4 separate regions of the Homo sapiens genome follow, and all the other regions are linked to region 1. Evidence: promoter capture Hi-C in 16 types of primary human blood cells and fetal thymus (Javierre and others, 2016). All regions are on one chromosome and are shown on one strand. Each heading gives the region's core, a stretch centred on a gene start or on the middle of the fragment in contact. The rest is flanking DNA. Distances are from core to core; before and after follow the strand shown.

Evidence for each region. Contacts are between HindIII fragments. The CHiCAGO score rates a contact against its expected background, and 5 or more counts as called.
Region 2: a fragment that was not itself captured here is called in contact with the fragment with the promoter of FLJ42393 in region 1 in 1 of 17 cell types (fetal thymus); the score reaches 5.0 in fetal thymus.
Region 3: a contact is called between a fragment that was not itself captured here and the fragment with the promoter of FLJ42393 in region 1, in 1 of 17 cell types (fetal thymus). The highest score is 5.1, in fetal thymus.
Region 4: a fragment that was not itself captured here is called in contact with the fragment with the promoter of FLJ42393 in region 1 in 2 of 17 cell types (fetal thymus and activated CD4 T cells); the score reaches 7.9 in fetal thymus.

Annotation. Positions count from the first base shown.
Region 1 is chr3:188,175,800-188,180,043 of GRCh38, forward strand. It overlaps FLJ42393 (a long non-coding RNA gene), which reads left to right and starts at 2,744. Exons shown (of 1, transcript NR_024413.1): 1 at 2,744-4,244. The region is part of intron 1 of LPP (LIM domain containing preferred translocation partner in lipoma); the gene reads left to right. RefSeq lists an enhancer at 3,508-4,120. The HindIII fragment of the contact is 11,595 bases long and covers 1-4,244 here.
Region 2 is chr3:187,966,452-187,970,245 of GRCh38, forward strand. It overlaps LINC01991 (long intergenic non-protein coding RNA 1991), which reads right to left. Exons shown (of 3, transcript NR_135538.1): 2 at 278-758. Among named protein-coding and RNA genes, the nearest start is that of LINC01991, 8.1 kb to the right of the region's middle. The HindIII fragment of the contact is 6,666 bases long and covers 1-3,794 here.
Region 3 is chr3:187,932,925-187,937,190 of GRCh38, forward strand. LOC105374265 (a long non-coding RNA gene) reads right to left here and starts at 301. Exons shown (of 2, transcript XR_924814.1): 1 at 221-301. The HindIII fragment of the contact is 1,015 bases long and covers 890-1,904 here.
Region 4 is chr3:187,986,089-187,990,301 of GRCh38, forward strand. No RefSeq gene overlaps it. Among named protein-coding and RNA genes, the nearest start is that of LINC01991, 12 kb to the left of the region's middle. RefSeq lists enhancers at 453-747, 3,708-4,213. The HindIII fragment of the contact is 4,467 bases long and covers 1-4,189 here.

The DNA.
Region 1 (4,244 bases), core at 1,494-3,993:
GGATGCCACTGTGCTCATAGTTGGGCTTTTTTGTACATGTTAATTTTTTTTTTTTTAAATATAGTGACAGAATGCATACCACTGAGGTGGTAAATGGAAAAAATAAGTGCAGTGGAGTATACTGTCTGTTTCTTGGGGCCTTTTCTATTAATCACAGGAGGAAGCATCAGACATGACCAGATGAGAGAGCCAGATGACCCAAGTTCATGCCAGATCAAAATCAGAATGGCAAAATTGGGAGGAGTTGATGCTGTTGAATTGAGAAAGCATAAGGTTCTCAGAGTGATAGAGCTGGAAGGATCATAAAGGTCATCTAGTCTAATGGTTCTCAAACTCGAAGGAACATTAGGGTCATCCTGGAGAGTTTACTGGGCCCCGTCTCAGAGGTTCTGATGCTGTAAATCAGGCGGGACCCCTGAATTTTCATTTCTAAGAAGCTCACAGGTGCTACTAATGTTGAAGAGAACCTATGATCTAGTTCAACTTCTGGGATTTCTTGCTTTCTTTCTTTTGTAAAAAAAATAAATAAATAAATTTAAAAAAGAGTTTTTGAAGATGGGGAAATGAGGCCTGGAAATAGAAAAGATTTGCCTAGAGTCACACACACTGTCAGGTCAGGTAGAGTCAAAATCAGGCACCCCGACTCACAGACTGCTTCACATTGCCATCAGAGATTGTCCTGCAACAATATTATGTTTAGTTCTACTGCAGAATGATAACTGGATCTTACCCCCTTTGCCTGATCTGGCCACAAACTTGTTTTTCAGGTCTTTCCATTAGGCTCTCTTCAGCTAATTAAAAAAAAAAAAATCAGTTAACCCACATTTATTGACCAGTGCTGTGTGTTCACAACTGTATTTAGACTAGTGGTATAGCAGTGCAGTAGTCTGAAAACATTTTCTCATCTGTAAACAAAGACAGTCATACCTCCTAGGACTGCAAGAAGTCACTGAACATATACCTGGCCCTTAGTGTACACATTACTAAAGAGAATAAGATGTGGTCTGCACCCTCTCATGCACCAGTGGCTTCTTGAGCAGTATGATAGAGAGAGACAGCTGAGATTTAGTGGAAAAACACAAGGCTTAGAATTGGGAGAGCTGGGTTCAAGCCCCAGCTTTGCCACTAAATGGCTGTGTAGTCTTGAACAAGTCACCTGCCCTCTCTGAGCTATAATTTGAAATAGACTTAGCTTAAGCAACAGGAAAGCAGTAATGAGCTAGAGGAAGGATAGAAATTGGGAAGAAGTATAAATCTGCTTAGGAGATGGCAAGTTTGGGGCTGAGGTGGAATTGATCTGAGGGAGAGACCTGGTAGAAAGAGCTAGGCAGTATGAGGCTGAGTGTCTGAAGGGGTAGCAGGCCTGGGGGTGGTCCAGTGATGGTTGAATGGGTGGGCCAGCCCAGCGAGGGGATCGCCTGCAATCCAGTAGAGATGCCCTCATTTTCATGGCAGGGTCCCCCTGTGCCAGTAGACAGACCCAGGCCTGGGAAGGAGGGCTGGTTGAAGTGAGATGGATACCAGTCTTGGAGCATGGTTGGAGAATCTGTCCAGGGTGATGGCATCTGTTTTGGATTGGGGCCTTGAGGCACATTTTCAGTTCTGCTCCCTGGACCAGCATAGGAGGGTGGCAGACAGTACAGTGATTTGAATACAGGATTGATCCTGCCACCTTGATTTCTGCCTTTATTTAGCGGCAAAGACACTAGATCAGAAAAGTACTGGATGTGATTGCTGTAGTCTTTCATGATTGATTTAGGAGCTGGGAGAGGCCTGGCTAGGAGTTGGAGGATCCCTGGGAAGATGAAGATTAGGTCTTACGTGAGCCTCAGCCCTCTCCTCTGTAAAATGGGAGTAATGATGGTAATTATGCTGATGTTACCTATTCTGACTGGAGTAAGGATTAAAGTACTTGTCTGGAGGAAGGCACTTCATGGTTAAAACATGAAAAGAGAAGTGCACAGTGTTTTTATTACAGGGAAACACCAAAGAGCTGGAAAGGAATGAGGGCTGGAGAGATGGAGCTGCCCTGAGGACTCTGGGAGGTCATCCTGGGGGCAGAACTTTGACAGTTGCTGCCCGAGGTGGGACAGGGATGCTGGGAAGATGTGACGATGTGCATAAGTGTGTCATGTTCAAGATGGTTCTAAGCCCTGGCCAATTCCATACATGCTCTTTTCCTTTCTCATCCATAGAGGTTTTGGCAAAGGCATACTTGGGAGTGTTGATATAGCTGACACTGCAGCACCCTCAGTTTACAGGTGTGAGAAGAGTGAGGCTCCCACAGTCTCACTTGGACAGGTAGTCAGGGCTCTGATGGAGCTCCTGGAGTTTCTAGGTTCTCTGTCACTTGATAGTCAGTGCTGGGAGGGACCTCAGGGAATCAGCCAATTTCACAGATGGGGAGAGTGAGGCAGGTTGGGAATTCTGGCCCCAGTGGAGGGCACCACATGCCCACAGGGAAATGTCTTTCCCAGCCCCCTCCTCATGCTTCTCCTCTTTTCTGTCTGGAAGTCCTAGTTCTCCTCCTCACGCTGAGACCCAGGTAGGGTGATTGTCCATGTTTCTTCATTTATCTGTTTTTTTTCTGTTGCCCAGGGACTACTCTAAGCACCATGCTGGTTGCTGACTGTTCGCTTTTGCAAGATCTTGGAATCTCTGTTTGTTCACATCACAACTCAAGAGGATACGTTCTCATTCTCCCAATGTTTGTCTTCTGCCCATTGCATCAAATTGCTCTTCCTTGTTTGGAATTAAACTTCTAGCAATCATTTACCTTTATGGTTCTCTTAACTTCAGGTCACACTGTTGTTTAGTCAATGTGAGAATCTTTCAGATGTTCTGCACTTTGCAAAAGGATATTCACAGCCAATGTGTGCGGCAGTGAAGGACACTTGTTGATTCCTTATTTATTGTCTGCTGTTCCAGGGACCGGGGACTAGAGGTGAATAAAGCCTTGTTTGGGCTGTCTAGGATGTTGTGATCGACACAGGAAACAGACATGAAAGCCAAATTGGCGCAGTGGGTGAAGTATTGTAATACTGGTCTCTGTTTATGATATATGGAAGAAGTTTCCTAGTAGCAGGGTGGGTGAGAGAGTCCATCATCATTGCAGATTGGTGCCTCTGTGGACATGCAGGTATATTAGGCCAGAGGTGGGGAGTGGGAGAGAGAGGGAGAGAGAGAGCACGACAAAGAGAGAGAGAGAGAGTGAGCAAGAGAGAGGGAGGGAGAGAGACAGAGAGAGAGAGAGAGAGAGAGAGAGAGTGAGCAAGAGAGAGGGAGGGAGAGAGACAGAGAGAGAGAGAGAGAGAGAGGTTTTGAGAGCATTGATATGGGGTCTACATATTCCCCCCGGCCCCCATTCCCTATTATCATAGAAGCATGCTGCCCTCCAAGGCTTTTGAATTTGCCACCGTGAAGAGCATGCATGGAATCTTCGGCTGTGGCCTTGCATTGCCCCCTGTCTTCGCAGCGGAGCTTCTTTATCTGACCCGTGCATGTGCCTCTGATGAGCAGCCCTTCATCACAGCTCTGCGGCCTCCTCCTAGGCCCCCGCCTTCAGCTCTCCAGTTCATTTCCCGCCTTGTTCCCATTGCCACCTGCGGGCTTGGAGGGCCACCTGACATTCTGTCCTTTGGGTCCCCTGTGACTCCAGAGCTCCTTCCCTTCTGGGGCGCCCACATCTGCGACACGCTTGTTTGCCCAGTGCATTTTCTACACTTAGAGTTCCTCTCGTGCTCTCATATTTCCATTTAAAGCCCTCTCGAGAGGTCTGTCTCCTGCCAGCAGCATTCCTTCTAGTTTACTAGAACTCCATTTCTCATCCTGCCAGGAATCCAGCCGTGGAGTGAGCTTCAGCAAGCCTCTCTGCAGTCTCTTGTCTGCTCCAAAACTGTGGCCTCTGGTTGTGAGAAATGGGCATCCTGAGTCAGTGAGAGCAGTAGTTAGCTTGCAGCAGCTTCCCCTCTCCCCCTGAGTGAGCCTTTCTTCCTCTTCCTCCTCTTTCATTCAGCCTCATCCTGCCTTGGGTCCATTTGACAGATAATGGCACCTTGAGGCCTTGTCTTTTGCATGGCATCTGTGCCTGACTGGTCAGAAATTACTTGTGAAGCAACATAGGGGGTTGTTGGTTGGGTCCACTTTTAGGATGAAGTCAGAAGGGATCGTGAGTGATGCTTGGCCAATAAGAATGTATTGATTTGATTTACTAATTAATTTCATTTCCAGACACCAATATATGC
Region 2 (3,794 bases), core at 687-3,186, 210 kb before region 1:
ATAAGAACCAAGAACGTTTTGGGATGTGTTTCTATGGAAGCCTAGATAGAGATCAGTAATCTCAGACATCACTCTGGGCAACCTCTGGGCCTGTCCATCTTCAGGCATCTAGAAATCTGTGCCCAAGGCAGACAGAAAAGACTGGGTCCTGGAAGAAGCCTCAGGCACCAATTGGACCTCAGTGTTCTTCACTTCTTTAACTGCTAAATTCACCCAATCACATTTAAATAAATTTTATAAGACTTTGAAAATGTGTTTCTGTTCCTCTAGAAATTACCTCTAAATTTTCTAGTATAAACGTCTGCCAGCTTTGTTCAGCCAAGTTCCTTTCCCCCTCTTTTCTTTGACAATGAAAGCAGCTTTGGTGCCAACGCTCAGAACTGGCAGGTGTTTGATGACACATGTTCTGTGATAAATGTTTATTACATAAGTTCATTCAAGCTAGCTACCAGAGCTTTTGAGGCATCATTGCTACTTATCATAAAATTGTCCTTGAAAACCAGAAGCCCAATATATTCCCAAAAGCTCTATTTTTTTTTCTTTCTTCTTTTAGGTTCTCTGTGTTCTATCGACGTCTGGTGCAATGGAGAAGTCAGGAGATGGTACTTGAATCCTGACTCTGTCACAAGCTGGCTGTGTGACCCTGGGAAAGCCACTTCTGTACTCTGAGCCTAGTTGCTCATTTGTAAAATGAGGAGGTGGAAGCTGTGATTGCCAGGGTCTCTCTAATTTCTGACGTATCCCGATAAGAGGACAAACTGGTGGGGAAAAAAAAAAACCAATTTCAGTCAAGCAGAAACACATGCTTGCCTTTCCTTACCCAGAATGTGCTTTACATAACCGAATTTGCTTCCTTTTTTACTGGCTTGCACTCCAGTAAGGAGGCAGGGGAGCAGCACGGCTGGCAGCAGCTTGGAGAGGGTGCAGTGTGCAGGGATGGATGTGGGGAGGGGATGCTGAGGGAGGCTTCGCTGACGAGTGAATGAGGCACAGGCACCATGAACTACTAGAGCTTTGTCACACTTCTTATTACTGTGATTATGTTATATTAGAATGAAAAGACCTGCAGGGTATTTAAAGTGCAAAAACCTAGAGAAGAACTATTAAGAAACTTCCAGTCCCATGATTATTCTAGATAAAGCATTCAGAAACTTTAGTTATGCAAATTAGATTCATTTTTGAAGAAAATACTTACATATTAAGAATTTTACGGCTGGGCGAGGTGGCTCACACCTGTAATCCCAGCACTTTGGGAGGCCGAGGAGGGGGTGAATCACCTAAGGTTAGGAGTTCGAGACCAGCCTGGCCAAAATGGTGAAACCCCATCTCTACTAAAAATGCAAAAATTAGCCGGGCATGGTAGCACGCACCTGTAGTCCCAGCTACTGGGAAGGCTGAGGCATGAGATTCACTTGAACCCAGCAGGCGGGGGTTGCAGTGAGCCAAGATCGTGGAACTGTCCTCCAGCCTGGGTGACAGAGCAAGACTCTGCCTCAAAACAAAAAAAAAAATTTAAAAATTATCAGCTTGATATTTTTTCCTCCAAAACTTTCAACTAGCCCATGCGGAAACATGTTGTAGGTCTTTTCATGCATTAACGTTTGTACCAAAAAAAGCTCACACACTGTTATTGTCTCCATTTTACAGGTGAGAAAACTGAGATGCTAGCAGGCCCAGCACCCTGTCAGAAGATTCAAATCACAGTTGGCAACGTTGAGAGTTAACCCAGATCCCCTTGCCTCCGGGTCTGGAACTCTCTGCTACTGTGCTCTAAGGCATTCTTCCACACTGCTCCACAGAGGGCTTTTCTTGGCCTCAGGCAGAGAGATGAGTAATTATCTGTAAACCGGAATCAGGGTTTATCTCTCTGCTGTCTAAAGTACTAATGTACAATCACAGACTGTCAGAGCAGTAAAGTTCCCTAGATATCATTTAAGTGTTTTTCCTCAGCTGAGTACCTCAGTGGTACTCTCTGGTGCTTTTGAACAAGTTAGTGGCAAAATCAGCACTGAAATCCCTTAACTCCCACTTTATACTATTTATGAGACTTGGTATTAAAAAACAAAGTGAAGCCAGGCATGGTGGCTCACGCCTATAATCCCAGCACTTTGGGAGGCTGAGGCAGGTGGATTGCTTGAGGCCAGTTCAAGACCAGCCTGGCCAACATGGCAAAACTCCATCTCTACTAAAAATACAAAATTTTCTGGGTATGGTGGCACACACCTGTAGTCCCAGCTACTTGGGGGGCTGAGGCAGGAGAAACACTTGAACCGGGAGGCAGAGGTTGCGGTGAGCTGAGATCATGCCACTGCACTCCAGCCTGGGTGACAAAGCAAGACTGTCTCAAAAAAATCAATCAATCAAACAACAACAACAAAACAAACTGATTTAGAAGATCAATCACTAAATAAATAGAGTATCAGGAATTATTTTTTTCAAGTTACTTAATAATCCTGCTGGCCAGGATTGGACAGAGTTAACTTTTGCCTCAATTTCTTCAATGACTTTCATTACCAACCTCACCAATATCATGTAGAGGGACTGAGGCAGAAGGAACTGTTACTGCCTATGAGTCATCCATTCTTGACCTTCAGCATGTTTTGAAAATGTGTTGTGAAATGCTTAACAATCAATAATTCCATCACCAGGCAGTATGAGGCTGGGAGTTATGCAACAGGCGGAACAGGGCATTACTGCTACATCATTCAGGAGACTCCAAATATCTGTTGTGCTCAGAACCCTCAGCAGGACCTAAAGACACAAAGTACCCATAAAAGTTATTTTTTTTTTAAAAAAAAAAACAAAGAGAAGATGGAAGACAGAGGAGAAGTGAAAGTAGACTTCTTTCCTTGCATTGGATCAGTAAAGTGGGACTAGCAGTTAAGTGTGGATACTCTCAAGCTAGCATGTCTGTTCTTTTCTGTCAATGGCTAAGTCACACTCCAATGTTACACTGCTGCTAGGCAACTCTTCTCTGCGCCCTAGACAGTGGCTTCATCTCCAGACATTGCAAGTGTCCTAGGTGAAGGTAGCTAGTACAAAGGAAAGGAGCACAGAACAAGGAGGTGAAGACCCAGTTCAAGTCCCTGGCTGCCACTTACAGGCCTATGACACTGAGAGTGGTCACATTACCTGTCAGATCTCCAGGCCCTTCTGTCCTACCAAGGGTAGATGACATCTGCCCAATAGATTATACCCAGTTCAGAAGTGATGAGGGATGTGAAAACACGTTACAAACTACACAAATGCAAGGGACTATTAGTAGAAACCCATGAATCTGATTTTGCAAGCTCAGATAAAAGGAGTCTCCCATTTAAAGATGGGCACTGGGGTATGACTTGTGGTTAGAGGCAAAATCAACGCCTGTGCCACGCAGGTGACAGAGGAGAATTTTCAGACTCTAATTTGTGCAGTCACCATGAGCTATAAGCTGGAAAATGTTTAACTGGTTCTACAGTGGTGAGAAAGCCCTGAATTATAGGTTTTGCTGATTTCTGTGGTATAAATACTTGCACCATGGCACATTCAAGCTCTCAATGTGACATCAATAACCATGGAGTGAGGAAAAGATGCCCACCACTGTCTCTCCCTTTTATGCAAGTCAACATACTACTGGAAACTTCTCTGGAGGCTTAGGACCCTATAATGAACTTTGCAAGCCTTCTTGACATATGGGACTCAAGTTGTAACATTCAGCCACAAGTGTCTGCTCTAATAATTCAGAGATGGAAATTCTTATTTTTATGGACATCCCTGAGCCCTAAAATGTAGTTCTAACATCCTTAGTAATGTTC
Region 3 (4,266 bases), core at 147-2,646, 240 kb before region 1:
AGAGACTTTGCTAATTTATGTGCTCCTCAGGGCAGGGCCATGTTCAAGCAATGAAGAAATAAGGATCAGGCACTTGCTTTCAAAAAGCACACCGTCCGGTAAACTACACCCTACTCATCTTAACATCTCAAATGTCTAACCCAGGGCCTAACACACATAGTAGATGCTCCATAGATGGTTCCCGATTAAGTAAACAAGTGAATGAATTAATGAATGTCACCTTGATAGTCACCTGCTGAGCCGGTGCCAAACCTTGAACTTAGGATTTCTATGCTGGGCTCCCACTGCTCATACTCTCTGCCTCCCCCATTCAGACTCATAGTAAGGTTCGAGAAACAGCCAATAAACATGACAAAAATGCATGCAAATATTCAATACCCATCATGTTTATTCACGATTCACAAGTGTATTCCTAGTCTTCTTCGATAAGACTCTCTCTCTATCATGATGTGACAGAAGCTAAGCAGAGAAACAGAGCTTCCAGCTGAAGAACAGCACTGACAGAGCCAGGAACTGCCTCTTGGAATGCCAGTACTGCCTCAAGCCGAAAATGTTCCCATGTCCTTGCTCTTCAAATAGGAACCAGCATATGACACATATGGGCTCATGATGGATATTTTAACATGTTTCAAATTTTGCCTGATTTTCACTCATTCCATAGAATGTCTAAGCTAGAAAATGCCTTGGAGATCATCAGGCTTAATAATTCTTTCATGGGACAGATAGAAATCCGAGAGTCAGAGGGGGAACGTGAGTGGTTCATGGTCACACAACCTGTCAGTGGCTCAGATTGACCCCAAACCCAGGATTCCTAGATTCCACCTAAGAGATTCTTTGTGTGCCCCATACTGCTGGATTCAGCATTAAGCCAGCAGACCAGTCAAGTGTAAGCTTCTTGAGAGCACAGGCTGTATCAATGGCTTATCTTTCTATCTCAGATTTCTAGCTCAGTGGCTTGCATGTCACAGAAACTCCTTCTCTACCCAGCACTGTGGAGTTCTCAGAGCTTTCATGTTCACCATGAGCCCCACTTTACATATGAGTGAGCCTCATGTTGCTCAAATGGACAAAGGGCTCACGGCTTCAGAAAAATGGTAGCAGAACTTGAACCCTGATCATTGGACAGCTAATTCATGCCCTTTTTCTGTCCTACGTAACCACCCAATAACTTTGATTACCAAGTGAGTAAATGATTACAGGATGAATGGTTGAAAGACTGACAAACATAGAAATCAATCACTCTCTCTTGAAAAACAGATTTTAAAAAACAAATAACTCGGCCGGGCGCGGTGGCTCACACCTGTAATCCCAGCACTTTGGGATGCCGAGGTGGGCGAATCATGAGGTCAGGAGATCGAGACTATCCTGACTAACATGGTGAAACCCCATCTCTACTAAAAAATACAAAAAAGTTAGCTGGGCGTGGTGTTGGGCGCCTGTAGTCCCAGCTACTGGGGAGGCTGAGGCAGGAGAATGGCATGAACCCAGGAGGCGGAGCTTGCAGTGAGCTGAGATTGCGCCACTGCACTCCAGCCTGGGGGACAGAGCGAGACTCCATCTCAAAAAAAATGAATAAATAAAAATAAAATAAATAAATAATTCTAGACCCTCATTCAGTAAAAAGTCTTTACTTGGACCCCCCGGTGGCCTGCTTTGGCTCTCTCACCTTGAATTTCCCTTCATTTGACACCAACATGTGTGTTTAGGGAAAAGGAAAAGCTAACAGCACTTAACCTCTGTGTTCCTTGAGGGGTCAATTTTTCTGATGTTAATCCTGTCCAATTTGGGTGATTTTAAAAAGTACAAAGAAAGACATTTAAGCCATGCAAATTCCTCCTCCCAGAGATTGCCAGTAGTTAACATTTTGGTGAATATCCATCATCTTTTTAAAATCTTTTTTCTAAAGCTTATAAATAAATTTTTAATGGATTTGCACTGAAAAACTGCTTAGTAATTTGTTTTTGTTGCTTAATAATAAATCACAAATATCTAATTAGGTCGCAAGTTGATCAAGTGGGAGAATGAGCATATTTTAACAATGTTTGATCAGTTGAGTAACACACAGGTGATGAGATTCCCAAACATTGCTTTCCATTGACTGTTTTAAGGACCCAGAGAAGCCATATTACCAGTCCTTGCCCGGGCTCTTCCGCTTCTAACATGACCATGGCTGCAACATGGTTAAGGTATCAGTAATTATAATAGCTCGGAATAACAGCTTACATTTTGCTAACCTCTCTTATAACACACACACACACACACACACACACACACACAGAGTAACATGTCAACCATTGTGATCAATAGGCAGAGAAGGAAACCTCACATATCTCATGTTCCTTGCACAACCCTGGAAGAGAAGCAGGTTCATGTCATTATTTTAAAGATGAAAAACTTGAGGATCAGGGAGATCATGTGACAGGCCTGCCTTTTGGGTTTTTGTTTCTTTGTTTGTTTGTTCTTTTAGTAACATCTTTAGAAAGAAAATAAAGAAAAATGAACCAAAGTTCAAAGAGGAGTTCTTATGATTGGAGATTAGAAAAAGATTTTACTCATTCATACTAGAGAGACTAACACATTCTTGGTCTTTCATTCCAGACCACTCTTTATACCTACCACACTGCTTCCTGACTTAAAACACCTTTGAAAGTTTTGGTGATTTTAGCTAATTTAATAGAACATTTTATGATATATACATATAAACATGCTGCGTTCTTTCCTGCCCCACCTCTAGCAGCAATGAGTGCTGACGGTGCATTCTGCGGCCTCCACGGATGGGCTGACTGCCTGTCACGTCTGTGAACAAGGTTTAATTTGATTAACGTGGGCTACCAGTCAGGACGACCTCCCCTGCTCAGCGACGCAAGGGCTGCTGGGTATGGCTGGCTGGAGGGCCAGAGAGCAGTTGTGATTCATTTCTGCCCCAGGCACCCACCTGGCGGGCCTGGTGCAAGTGCCGTGGGATCAGGGGAAAGTGAGAGGCCTGGCAGGCGCCTTGGCTGTGAGCTGAGCTTCGGGAGTAATAGTGAGAAGAGGGATGAGGGCAGCAGCTGCTGAGGTTGATATTTATATAATGACTCTCTGTGTTTTGAGGCAGGAAGTGAAACTGAGGTTGTGCTGAGACACTTTCCTTCCCCCATACCACTGCCCACGGCGGCTCCGGTGGGTGACCCAGGGAGAGCCACAGCAGATGCAGAGCAGGCTCCAGCCCCTTACTGGGGTGTCGGAGCTAAGGCTCTGTAGGGTCCAAGAGGCTCCCCTCCCTCTCCGTATGATTGTCCCTCCTTTCTCTCCACTTAGTTCTGCCTTATGGTGGAGACAGCATTGCTGCACCCCTGCAGCTTTGTAGGATTGCCATAATGGACTGTGGGACAATATCTACAAAACACAAGGCCAATCACGCATCTCTGGAGAATTAGCATTAAAACTCTTTATTACTTTCCTATGACCACTTCCAACACCACCACCACTGGTTTTTGTGGATTGTTTTTCCCTGACTTCTATACCTGCCTCAAGCCAACTTTCTGCCTGGTTTTTCTTCCTTCCTTCCAAGCATTAATACCTTTTGGAACCACCTCAGACCTCACAGTAAATGTCCCCTTCAGTGCTTTCCTTTCCTCTTGCTTAAGCCCAAGTTTAGGAATTCCATTCTTTCCTGTCTAAAACAAAAAGGCATTTTAATATAGATGATGTTCCATCCAGAGAGGCCTTCCTATTCTGCTTCTCACTCTAGTGTTGGGAGATTATTTGAAACATGGAGTGTTCACAGCTGAAAAGGACTTAAAAACTGTCTAGCCTCTGCTTCTCAATGACTGAAGGAGAAGCAAAGACCGTGTTAGAACTGAGGATCCCAAGGCCCTACTTCAGACCTGCTGAATCAGAATCAGCATTTTAACAAGATCTCCAGATGATTCACATGGACATTACACTTTGAGAGGCACTGTCTTATCCCAAGATGCTTATTAACAGGTGGAAGAAATAAAGGCCCAAAGAGGAAAACAAACAAGCACAAGGTCATCAGCAAGAGAATGCCACTAAAATAGAAGTTAGAAGTCTGTTTAGTTCAAGTCCCTTCCCTCTGCATGAGGCCTTAATAAAGACATAGTTCCAATGCCAGCACTGTGAAACAAGCAAAGCAATCTCTCCTCCCTCTTTATTTTTACTCTAAACTTCATCTATGGGTATGTTTTCAATTTATTTTACAAATAGAAAGTCAATACTAATGATTTCACAGCACTGCTTTCGAGCTCTTGTCCGTCTAGGTTG
Region 4 (4,213 bases), core at 706-3,205, 190 kb before region 1:
GAGATCCTGGGTTATTTATCTCCATATCCCCCAAGAGGGCTCTGCCTGTAGGTAGTACTCAAATAATATTGAGTGAATAAATCTAAGGATCAAAGGTTTCCATCATGAGATGCTGAGCTCCTTGACAGCAGGAACCCTCTATTAACCCCTCTGGCACAGTGTGTTGCACATAGTAGGTACTAAACTGTGAGTTGAATCAAATGCCATCCTTTCCCAGAGATGATGTAAAGAGGCAAAGTAATATATTGGAAATAGTGTAAACTTTGAAATCCTTCAGGTCTGTGTGGCCTTGGGAAAATGACTGAACCTCACTGAGCCTCATGTTCCCCATCTGAGGATAACACCACTGCCTAAGACAATTGTGACAAGACATAAATGTTGATGAGTCTGGCATTGGCGTGGCACACAGGAGGTACCCAGGCTACATCAGCTCCTTTTCTCTCTTCTTTCCTGAAGTCACAGAGATTGTCCAGCAGATGGGAATGTCCATGCCCAGTGGCTCATGCTCAAACCCTTTCACCCTGACACAGTGCGGGGAGACAGGAATAGGCTCGAAGGATGACTCAGCTCCAGTGACTAAAGCAAGGAGGTGGTGGTGGTAGGAACGGGGTAGGGGCTAAAAAGGAAGTGAGTTAACACTATATCTGATGAAGGATGACTCCAAAATAAAAAGGGGTTGGCCCTAGCTGGTTCCTGGCTCTGAAACGGTGCAAGTGAACAGGGGCCTGAGTGCTTCTCCATGACTCCCTCCACCTCATCTCGTGGGGAACTCCCTGCCTACCCAGGGATGTCTTCCAGAACAAATGCTGAGCATTCTCTCTCCTCTGGAGGCTTTCAGACCAGGCACTAGAGCACACTTGAATGCCACTTTTGATGGAGTGTTTTTTTAAGAAGTATCCCGTATGACTGAGATCAGCGTGCATGGATTCTAATCCTGACAGCCACCTGGGCCTCTCTCCTCGACTCCAGACAATCTTTTCCACCCACACCACCACTTTGAAATCCCCAAATATTGCACATGCAGCAAGGTTAGACCAGTCTTCCTGCCTGCAGGGTCACCCCAGTCCATTTTCTAGACTGTGCACAGAATGATATGTTCAAAACTAATTTATAATTCTGCTATCCCTCTGCTTAACATCCTTCAAGGTTTTCCCAGTTTCTACGGAACAGTCTAGACTCCTTCATCTGGTGTATAAAGCCTTTCATGATCCAGCACCTCCTCATCTTCTGGCTTTGCTTGCTGACCCCACCCCATAAACTCATACATACAGAGACACACCCTACATTTCAGCCAGCTTTCAAGAGTCCTTTTATCAGATCTCACACTTCCCACCCCTGGGTCTCTGAACATGCCACTCCTTCTCACAGCGACACACTTCTCCACCTTGGGCAAGACTGCATATCTTTCCAGATTGGGTTCAAATGCTGTCTCTGCTGTGTGGGCCTCTCAGATGTCCACTTGGCTCACCGATTGGCATTGTGACTTGTTTATGCATGCTTCTCTCCACTAGACTGACAGATCCTTGAAGGCAGGTCCTTCCACAGAATACCTACTCAACAAATGTTTGTGGAATACATGAAATATCAAAAACAGGCACAAAGTAATAAATCAAGCAATTTTTTCTCTGGTCTCCAGTGTTTTCATCTATAAAATATGTATCTGATCTAGGTGCCTTAAAACCTAGCAGCCTCAGATTTTATACTGTATCATTCTTCAAATACACATGTCACACTCCTGGCCCTCTAAGTAGTAGGAGATATTGCTGGGTTATTTTTTCCCAAGGAGAGAGTGGAACTCTGGATCCACTGACACTGCAGAAAGGCTGATCTCAGAAGCTCAGGTTGACATCACAAAACTACTGAAAGCCAGTGCACTACATAAGGACCCAAAAAAACCCAGGACTCTGGCCATATCACCAGCACAGTCATGGGTATCATTCACCCATATGGGTGATCATTTGCAGGCATTCGTATGAGCATTGTCATAGTCCTCAGGCAGGCACACAGGGTGACACATTTGTGCAAAGAAAGCCACCCACAGAGCCTCACCTCACCAAGATCACAATCTCCGTGATCCCCGCACCTCCCAGCATCACCCACACACTCACACACCCACAGGGTGTCAGGTTGTCTGTCTGCAAATCTGGAGTTCTACACATTGGACCACAGCATCCTTCAGCAGGGAAATAAGTGCACTTGTGTTCTCATGGCTCTCTCCCTCTGATCTCTATCGTCAGCATGGTCCTCACTGAACAGCTTCTGCCAATATGCTGGCATGAGACAACCTGAGTTCACCATCAGCCTTGTGTGGGAAAATTGATTAGTTTCCATGAGCCTCAGTTTTCTCATCTATAAGATGGGACTAGTGGCCCTGCTTACTCTTTTCTTACATAGGTACTGCCAACTAATTACTTAATTAATTCAATAAGTATTGAATTAATGCATGCAAATGCACCTCATAAACACAGGCACAATGCAAATGTGTGGAAGTCACAGAAATAATAATGTTGGTGGACAGTAGTTTCTGGCTCTAATGAAATGCTCCTTTTCCAATAAAAAGGAACAATTCAAAATCGAATAGTTATTGAATACATATTACATGAAAGGGATTATCACCAACCATAAGTAACTATTTCAAAGCTGTATTAGACAGTGCTGTAGTATGTTTGTGTCTGAAGGAAAATGTTTCATATTTCATGGTTTTAATATATATACATTTTAGTACATTTTACACAAATGGAAAGAGAAATAATATTTTCATATGTACAATATGAAACTATGGACATATATGCAATAATATTTTCGTGTGTGTGTGTGTGTGTGTGTTTGTGTTTGAGAAGAAAACACTACCTATGAGTCAGGAATGAAGTGTAATGAAAAAAAAGCATGAATTTTGGAATAAAACATACACACCTAGATTCACATCCTGATTATTACTTATTAGCTTTTTGACTTGGGACAAATTGTATTATTTTTTGTTATTTTTATTTTATTTATGTTTTTATTATTTTATTATTTTATTTTTATAAGGTTTCAAAAACTGATATGTAATAGTTGTACATATTTTGAGCATACCTGTGATATTTTGATACATGCGTACAATGTGTAATGACCAAGTTAGGGTAACTGGAATAGTCATCACCGACATCATTTATCTTTTCTTTGTGTTAGGAACATTATAACTCTTCTTTCCTAGCTATTTTGAAATATACAAAAAATATTGCTAACTGTAATTATCCTACTGTACTATTGAATACTAGAACTTATTCCTTCTATCTAACAGTATTTCAGGGAACAAGTTTTAAATTTACTAAAGCCTCAATTTCCCCATACTAAAAAATGGAAATAAAAAACTTAGCTCATAAGTCTGCTGGGTAAATCACTTTGAAAAATTATAATATTGAATAGTCACTAGGACAGAGAGGGCTCAATAAGTGTCACTGTTGCCCATTTTGTGTTCTCTGTCTCACTAACCCTCTGTGTGACCTGGGACAAATCGCTCCGCCCCTTGGAGCATGTTTTCTCACCATAGAATGGGAGAGAAGAGTTTGATGATTCCATGGATTCCTTCCAGCCCCAGGAGTCACAGTATCCTATATCCAGTATCTGTTTTATGCATGCACGTGGGTTTAAGTAATCAGGGCAGCCAAGGGGTGGCCCCTTCAGCCTAGCGTTTGCTCAATTTCCAAAGCGTTTCCTTTCTCTGAACGTGCCAGTTGCTCACTTTCATATTTTCAATACAGGGCCCATTGATGACCACAAAAAGGAATGTCCAGTGCAGCTGCGGGTCCACTTGAGCCCTCCAAGCAAGCACTCTCAAGCCCGCTCTGTCTGGGAGCTCTGTGTTTTCAGAGCCTGTTGTTGCAGCGATGCCTGGAATCCTTAACACCTGCACACCAGCTTCCTGGGCATTTCCACACCCTCCCCCTCCCCACCTCCTGCATCTCCCATTTGCATCTGAAATGCAGCTGCTCTGGGCCCTATAGAGGAAAGCCAAATGGACAGGACATCTCCTTGTTTGTTCTCCCTCCCCTGAGTCAAACCGAATCTGAAGCTCCTCTGTGCGACGCCTTTGTTGCCTCCTCATTATGTTTAAATGAGCCTCATCTGCAGGAGGATTTTTTTTTAATAAAATAAAATAAAACCACCACAAAAGACCAAAGCATATGACATCTGCTCTTTCGATGAAAGCTTTTTTTGTCCCGAATTAGAC